Linked DNA regions of Homo sapiens: region 2 is linked to region 1. The links are contacts of gene promoters, found by promoter capture Hi-C in blood cells and fetal thymus (Javierre and others, 2016). All regions are on one chromosome and are shown on one strand. Each heading gives the region's core, a stretch centred on a gene start or on the middle of the fragment in contact. The rest is flanking DNA. Distances are from core to core; before and after follow the strand shown.

Region 1 (4,527 bases), core at 295-2,794:
ATTTTTCTATTAACTGAAACGAAGAAAATGGGTGTAAAAAAGAGAAGACTGTCCCTTAATGTCAACATTGCTTCATACATCTTTCTAATCTTTCAAGTTTTATTCTGGCCATATTCATTCTCCCAATTTGGTCGATTTATATTTCTGGAAGAGATCATCACTGAATGACAATTTTAATGGGTTTAGGAAAATGACATTTATCTAAATGGATGAATATTCATTGGTGAAATTTCAGGCACTACAATGGGGTCATTGGTACATGGATGGAAAAGGGTATCTGTAATAGTTTTGATTAAAGGAGCTTTTAGGATTCTTTCGCTAATCAACCGCAGGTGTAAATGATCCCTCCAATTACAGGTGGTCTAGCAGAGACCTGTAGATCCTCTCAAGATCCATCCAGCTGAATGCTGACAACTCCTACTAAACTCTGTGCTCTCAGCTATCCTTATGCAGTGAAGTCGTGCCTAATACTTCCAGCTTTTGGGAATCTATAGGATTGTGTTTCTTCAGGTATTCATGTTAGAGTTGGCACAGTAGTCATTACAGGTGTGCTATCTCTTGTGCATTACAAAATAATGATTGTAAGAGTAATAGTAATATGATTTAGATACAGTCTCAAGCACATCCCCTGCTTTTACATGCTCATTCCTCTTCAGTTATCCTGCTGAATTAAAAGAAAAATACCATCCTCCACTAAGAGAGCCCCTCAACTTAAGGAAGCTCACAACATAGCAGTTTTGAGCAACAATTATTTATGTTGCTTTGCTCTCATCTAGAAGAAACTGGGCTTTTGCACACAAGCCTGAGGATTTTTTCCCCTACCGTCCATATCACAAGGTTCTAGAGGAATTTTTTTTTTCATTCACCAATCTATTTTATTCAGGTATTCATTTATCTTAATTGCAGGATTGAGATCTAAAGTTCCATTTATCAGAATGTGCATCCTAGTAAAGGCTGTTAACCTTCTGAATCATGGCCTCTCTTGACTCCAACTGATGCAGTAACATCTTGCTGTTTCTCTCCTTAAGCCAATATCCATCACAAGGATGCCTTCCTCCTTTATCTGGGCATGTTGGGCATAATGACTCACTTTCCTTTGAAATTATTGACATTTTCTTATTTGTGTCCATCCTACCCTTCCTCACAGTCATGTTTAGGTACATGTTACTATCTTACTATCATGATTTTAATAATTTCATTCTCTCTGTATTTCAGAGAACAATATTTTTCCATTATTTTATAAATGTTCAAAATCTAACAATTTAATTATCTTTTTCCACAAATATTCTGTATTCGTTTGAAAAGAAAAAAAAATCTCACCAGTATTTTCCAGAGCTTGAGTTCACTTTATGTTTCTATCTCTTCTTGAGTTAATTTGGGTGCAGCTTCCCAAGGTAAAGTAACAGTGATGCCTAGGGAATTCCTTTGTGAATAATTAGTACCGGAAAATACCTGACCCCCCAAACTGAAAGGCTGGTAGAAATGAGTCTTTGTTGTTCCTGGTTTTCTCACCTAATGATACCTGCCATTTCACAGGGTCTTTGACAATAAATGCTGTTTTCTCTATTCTTACAGGTCTATTTAAAGAGGAAGATGCAAAATGATAAATGACCTTGGAGACAGCTTTTCCCCAAAGTCTTCCTCCATAGTCAAAATCAAATTGCAGCCCTACCAATGAACTTTAATTCTAGTGTCTGTTCAATTTTTTAAAATTAAATTTTAAAAATTGTTGCTAAATACAAAAACCGATCAATTCTCATATTAACGACTATAGCCCTAATCCAAAGCAATTCAGCCAAGAGAAGTAATAATTTTATCATTCTAAACCTTGTTTTTGAATTAATATGCTTTACTATATGCATTAAATAGTCCATATTTGATATAACATATTAAGATATCTGTTTTATGTTATTTATTGAATTGTAATTGTTCTTTCTTGAAAGCTATATTGTAATAGAAAATAGTATATTCGATTGTGCTATTTGGGAACATTGCTTTTCTTCTTAATTGATTCTATGCTGATTTATGGAGAAATAGCTGGGATAAGGTTCATGTTTGGCCTATGCTTGGAATAAGTATGGTGTTGAATTTAATTCATTTACTTTTATATTGTAAATTCTTAAGGTTGACTCACGAAAACTAATAATAATCTTGCTTTTTCTCTTCCTATTTCTATTAGTTTCTTTCCCCATGCTTGACTTTTTTACTTTACTCTTCTTACCTTATCTTACCTTTTTCTTTATTTCAAACAACATCCAAAATGTCCAAGAGATCCTACTTATATTTTCACTATCTGGAGTTAGCAGAAGAAATGAGTGAAAAATAAAGAGTAGGAAGTAAAAGAGCAATTATGCCCAGGTTTGTGGAAACATTCATCATGATTAAGCTAGTGTGTTAGTTTCCTGTTGCTGCTGCAATGAATTACCACAAACTTAGTGGCTTAAATCAATACAAAGTCAGTATTTCACAGTTCTGCAGGTGAGAAGTCCAAAATGAGGCTCACTGGGCTAAAATCAAGGCATTGGAAAGGATGAATCCTTCCGAAGTCTGTAGGGGAAAACTCATTCTGTTCCAGCTTCTAGAATCTACCAGCTTCCTTATGGCCCCTTTCCTTCATCTCCAAAGCAGGCAGTGTAGCATCTTCAAATTTAACTTATTCTGCTTCACTTTCCCATTTTAAATAAACCTTGTGAATACGTTGAGCCCACATGGATAGTGCACGATAACATCTTTGTTTTAAGGTCAACTGACTAGCAAACTTAATTTTTATCTACAATCTTAATCACCTTATCATGTAACAAAATATATTGATAAGTTCTGAGGACTAAGATGTGAACATCTTTGGAGATCCCTATTCTGCTGCTCAGTTATTTAGATGAGTAGTGGGGCGAGTCAGTATATCTTCTATTCCTACTTTGCAAAATGTACTTTGAGATCTAGGAGATGTTTAAAAATATGTTTTGGAACAAATGCTAAATATAATATATAAATAATGGAATATTAATGTTCATATTTTATAACAGAAATGTGTGCAAAGGAAGGATATCTGATGAGAATTATCACTTGGATTAAAAAAGACAGCTACATGTCATGTGATAGGAAAATGATAGTAAATTAATAAAAGATATAAGAATAGTACATACACAGCAACGGTCAATAGATTTAACATTCATTTATTATAATAGCTTTATTGCGATATGATTCATATACTATGTAGTTCATCAATTTAAAGTGTACAGTTTAATTAATTGATGTTTCATAAGCAGGGTTGGGCAACCATCAACACAATCTAAGTTTACAACATCTTTGTCCCCTCAAAAAGAAACCCCATTCTCATTAGCAATCACTCCTCATTCCTCTCTCACACCATCACCCCCAGCTCTAGGCAAACACTAATCTACTTTCTATTACTACAGATTGGCATCTCTGGACTTTTTTTTACATAAAAATAATAATACAATATGTAGTTTTTTGTAACTTGCTTCTTTCACTTGCCGTAGCATTCTTAAAGATAATCCCATTGATGGGAGTGTAAATTAGTTCATCCGTTGTGGAGGACAATGTGGTGAGTCCTCAGAGATCTAAAGGCAGAAATCCCATTCCATCCAACAATCCCATTACTGGGTATCTACCCAGAGGAATATAAATCATTCTATTATAAAGACACATGCACACATATGTTCATTGAAACACTGTTCACAATAACAAAGACATGGAATCAACCTAAATATCCATCAATGATAGACTGGATAAACAAAATGTGATACATATACACAATGGAATACTCTGCAGCCATAAAAAAGAATGAGATCATGTTCTTTGACGGGGCATGGATGGAGCTGAAGGCCATCATCCTTAGCAAACTAACACAGGAACAGAAAACCAAATAAGGCATGTTCTCACTTATAAGTGGGATTTGAAAGCCATATTTTTCTTGAGACCAATAGATATGAACACTTTTTTGTAATACATTGTTTTCTCTAGATTAAATTTACATACAAGGAAGTGCAATGTTTTGAAGTATATGCTTTGATGATTTTTGACACATGTATATATTCATGTAACCACTAACAAATTCAAGATGTAGAAAACTCAACAACTCAGAAGTTTTGTCATGCACCTTTTCAGTTCATTCCCCCAGATACAACTACTTTTCTGGTTTTTATGATTCAATTTTAGTTTTCCAATTGTAAACTTATTATGACTGATTGAAGCATTTATTCATTTGTGTCTAGACTGTTTTGAGATTTATCATGTTGTTTTGTGTATCATTAGTTCATTATTTTCCTTTGCAGAAGAGTGTTTGCTGAAAAACATCCTATAACGTTTACTCTAACAACTTTTGTCTTTTAAATGCAGTATAATTATATGTAACGTTATTGAGATTTTTGAATTTAAGTTTCTATTGCTGCAGTTTACTTTGTCTCCTCTATAACTTTCTTCTCAATTTTCTTTATTAACTTTGACCTAATCAAGAAATGTTTTTGTGTACTATAAAATTCTATCCTCTTTTCTGTCTTTTTCTAA
Region 2 (4,433 bases), core at 1,928-4,427, 750 kb after region 1:
TAGAGTTAAACCTTTCTTTGGATTAAGTAGTTTAGAAGCTCTGTTTTGCTCCATTCTGTGAATGGACATTTGGCACCTAATTGAGGCCAATGGCAAAAAAGCGAATATCTCAGGATAAAAACTAGAAGAAAACTATCCGAACAACTGCTTTGTGATGTGTGCATTCATCTAGCAGAGTTAAACCTTTCTTTTCATTCAGCAGGTTGGAAGCACTGTTTTTGTAGAAACTGCAAGTGGATATTTGAGAGCACATTGAGGCTTATAGTAAGGAAATATCTTCAGTTGAAAACTAGAAACAAGCTTTTGAGAAACTGCCTTGTGTTGTGTGCATTCATCTCACAGCGTTAAACCTTTCTTTGGATTCAACAGTTTGGAAACAGAGTTGTTGTGGAATGTGCAAAGGCATAGTTGGGAGCTCATTGAGGCCATTGGGGAAAAAGCAAATATCCCAGGATAAAAACTAGGAGCTATCTGAGAAACCACTTTGTGATGTGTGCATTCATCTCACAGAGGTAAACCTGTTTTTCATTCAGCAGTTGGAAACACTGTTTTGCTAGAATCTGTGAAGGAATTATACGAGTGCATTGAGGCCTATGGTGAAAAAGGGAATATCTTCAGATAAAAACTAGAAAGAAGCTTTCTGAGAAACTGCTTTCTGACATGTGCATTCATCTCATAGAGTTAAACCTTTCTTTGGATTCAGTAGTGTAGAAACTCTGCTTTTCTCCACTCTGAGAATGGATATTTGGCAGCTAATTGAGGCCAATGGCAAAAAAGCTAATATCCCAGGATAAAAACTAGAAGGAAGCCATCTGAAAAACTGTTTTGTGATGTGTGCATTCATCTCACAGAGTTAAATCTTTCTTTTCATTCAGCAGTTTGGAAACATTGTTTTGGTAGAATCTGCGAAGGTATATTTTGGAGCACACTGAGGCCTATGGTAAAAAAGGAAATAACTTCAGATCAAAACTAGAAAGAAGCTTTCTGACAAACTGCTGTGTGATGTGTGCATTCATCTCACAGATTTCAACATTTCCTTGGATTCAGCAGTTTGGAAACACTGTTGTTGTAGAATCTGCAAAACAATAGTTGGGAGCTCATTGAGGCCATAGCAGAAAAAGCCAATATCCCAGGGTAAAAACTAGAAGGAAGCTATCTGGGAATCCACTTTGTGATGTGTCCATTCATATCCGAGAGTTGCACCTTTCTTTTCATTCTGGAGAATGGAAACACTGTTTTTGTCAATTCTGTGACTGGATATTTGGGTGCACGTTGAGGCCAATGGCAAAATAGTGAATATCCCTGGAGAAAAACTAGAAGAAAGCAATCTGAGCAACTGCTTTGTGATGAGTGCTTTCTTCTCACATACTTAAACCTGTCTTTTCATTCGGCAGTTGGAAACACTGTTTTTGTAGAACCTGTGAAGGTATTATAGGAGTGCATTGAGGCATATGGTGAAAAAGGAAATATCTTCAGATAAAAACTAGAAAGAAGCTTTCTGAGAAATGGCTTTGTGACATGTGCATTCATCTCATACAGTTAAACCTTTCTGTGGATTCAGTAGTTTAGAAACTCTGTTTTTCTCCACTCTGCATATAGACATTTTGCAGCTAATTGAAGCCAATGGCAAAAAAGCGAATATCCCAGGATAAAAACTAGAAGGAAGCTATCTGAAAAACTGCTTTGTGATGTGTGCATTCATCTCACAGAGTTAATTTTTTATTTTCATTCAGCAGGTTGGAAAAACTGTTTTTGTAGAAAGTGCAAGGGATTTTTCAGAGCACATTGAGGTTTATAGTAAAAAGGAAATATCTTCAGTTGAAAACTAGAAACAAGCTTTCTGAGAAGCTGCTTTGTGGTGTGTGCATTCATCTCACAGCGTTAAAACTTTCTTTGGATTCAACAGTTTGGAAACATTGTTGTTGTAGAATGTGTGAAGACATATTTGGGAGCTCATTGTGGCCATCAGGCCATCAGAGAAAAAGTGAATATCCCAGGATAAAAACTAGAAGGAAGCTATCTGAGAAACCACTTTGTGATGTGTGTATTCATCTCAGAGATTTCAACATTTCCTTGGATTCAGCAGTTTGGACACTCTGTTTCAGTAGAATCTGTGACGAGATATTTGATAGATCATTGAGGCCATAGGCTAAACAGCAAATATCCCAGGGTAAAAAGTAGAAGGAAAGTATCTGAGAAACCACTTTGTTATGTATCCATTCATCCTTTTGCAGATTCTAAAATAACAGTGTTTCCGAACTGCTGAATCCAAAGAAATGTTTAACTCTGTGAGATGAATGCACACATCACAATGCGGTGAGAGGTTCTTTCTAGTTTTCATCCTGGGATATTTGCTTTTTCATCATTGGCCTCAATGAGCTGCCAAATGTTCTTTCATAGAATGGACAGAAATTGGTGTTTTCAAAATACGGTATCCAAAGAAATGTTTAGCTCTGTGACATGAAAGCACACATCAGAAAGCAGTTTCTCAGAAAGCTTCTTTCTACTATTTATATGAAGATATTTACTTTTTCACCATAAGCCTCAATGAGCTCCCATATATCCCTTTGCAGATTCTCCCAAAAAGTGTTTCCAAACTGCTAAATGAAAAGAAACTTTTAACTCTGTAAGATGAATGCACACATCACAAAGTGGATTCTCAGATAGCTTATTCTAGTTTTTATCCTGGGATATTGGCTTTTTCACTTTTGACCCCAATGAGCTCCCAAATATCCATTCGCAGACTCTACAGAAGTGTGTTTCCATACTACTGAATGAGAAGAAAATTTTAAGTATGCGACACAAATGCACACATAACAAGTGGTTTCTGAGATAGTTTCCTTCTAATTTTTATTTTGGGATAGTATTTTTTTTTTCCTTGGCCTCACTTAGCTCACAAATATCCCTTTTCAGATTCTACAAAAACAGTGTTTCCAAACTGCTGAATCCAAAGAATGGTTTAACTCTGTGAGATGAATGCTCACATCACAAAGCAGTTTCTCAGAAAGCTTCTTTCTAGTTTTCAACTAAAGATATTTCCTTTTTCACCACAGGCCTCCAAGAACTCCCATATATCCCTTCACAGATTTCGAAAAACAGTGTTTCCAAACTGCTGAATATAAAACAAGTTTAACTCTGTGAGATGAATGCACACATCACAAATCGGTTTGTCAGATATCTTTCTTCTACATTGTATCCTGGGATATTCACTTTTTTGCCATTGGTTTCAATCAGATCTTAAATGTCCATTCACAGAATGGACAAAAACAGTTTCTCCAAACTGATGAATCAAAAGCAAGTTTTAATACTGTGAGATGAATGCAGATATTGCACAGCAGTTTCTCAGAAAGCTTTTTTCTAGTTTTCATCTAAAGACATTTCCTTTTTCACCATAGGCCTCAATGCGCTCTGAAATATCCCATCCAAGATTCTACCAAAAGTGTTTCCAAACTGCTGAATGAAAAGACAGGTTTAACTCTGAGAGATAAATGCACATATCACAAAGTGGTTTCACATATAATTCCTTCTAGTTTTTATCCTGGGCTTTTCACTTTTTCACCTTTGGCCTCAACGAACTCCCAAATGTCCCTTTGCAGATTCTACAAAAACACTATTTCCAAACTGCTGAATCCAAAGAAAGGTTGAACTCTGTGATATGAATGCACATATCAGAGAGCAGTTTCTCAGAAAAGTTCTTTTTACTTTTAATCTGAAGTTATATTTCCTTTTTCATTATAGGCTCCATTGCGTTTCCAAACATCCCCGCACAGATTCTATGAAAACAGTTTTTCCAAACTGCTGAATGAAAAGAAATGTTTAACTCTGTGAAATGAATGCACTCATTACAAAGTGGTTTCTCAAAGAGTTCTTTCTAGTATTAATCCTGGGATATTACCTTTTTTGCCTTTGACCTCAATGAGCTCCCAATTATCCCTTAGCAGATTCTACCAAAACAGTGTTTCCAAACTGCTGAATAAAAAGAGGTTTTACTGTGAGAGGTGAATGCACACATCACAAAGCAGATTCACAGAATGCTTCTTTCTAGCTTTTATCCTAGGATATTCCGTTTTTTGCCTTGTCCTCAATGAGATCCAATATATTGCTTCACAGATTCTACAAAAACAGTGTTTCCAAGTTGCCAAATCCAAAGAAAGGGTTAACTCTTTGAGAAGAATGTACACATCACAAAGTGGTTTCTCAGATAGCTTCTATCTCCTTTTTATACTGGGATATTCCCTTTTTTTACATTGGCCTCTATAAGTTCCTAAATTTCCATTCACAAAATGGACAAAGGATCATCTCTAACCTGCTGTATCCAAAGAAAGTTTTAACTCTGTGTGATGAATGAACACATCATAAAGCAGTTTCTCAGAATTCTTGTTTCTAGTTTTTTATCTGAAGATATTTCCTTTTTCACCATAGACCTCTATGTG

What was found. The method cuts DNA at HindIII sites, captures the fragments that hold promoters and counts their contacts. A CHiCAGO score of 5 or more calls a contact.
Region 2: a contact is called between a fragment that was not itself captured here and the fragment with the promoter of OR4S2 in region 1, in 1 of 17 cell types (activated CD4 T cells). The highest score is 5.3, in activated CD4 T cells.

Annotation. Positions count from the first base shown.
Region 1 is chr11:55,645,344-55,649,870 of GRCh38, reverse strand. OR4S2 (olfactory receptor family 4 subfamily S member 2) reads right to left here and starts at 1,544. Exons shown (of 2, transcript NM_001004059.3): 1 at 1,321-1,544. The HindIII fragment of the contact is 13,020 bases long and covers 1-4,527 here.
Region 2 is chr11:54,899,461-54,903,893 of GRCh38, reverse strand. No RefSeq gene overlaps it. Among named protein-coding and RNA genes, the nearest start is that of OR4A5, 190 kb to the right of the region's middle. The HindIII fragment of the contact is 342 bases long and covers 3,007-3,348 here.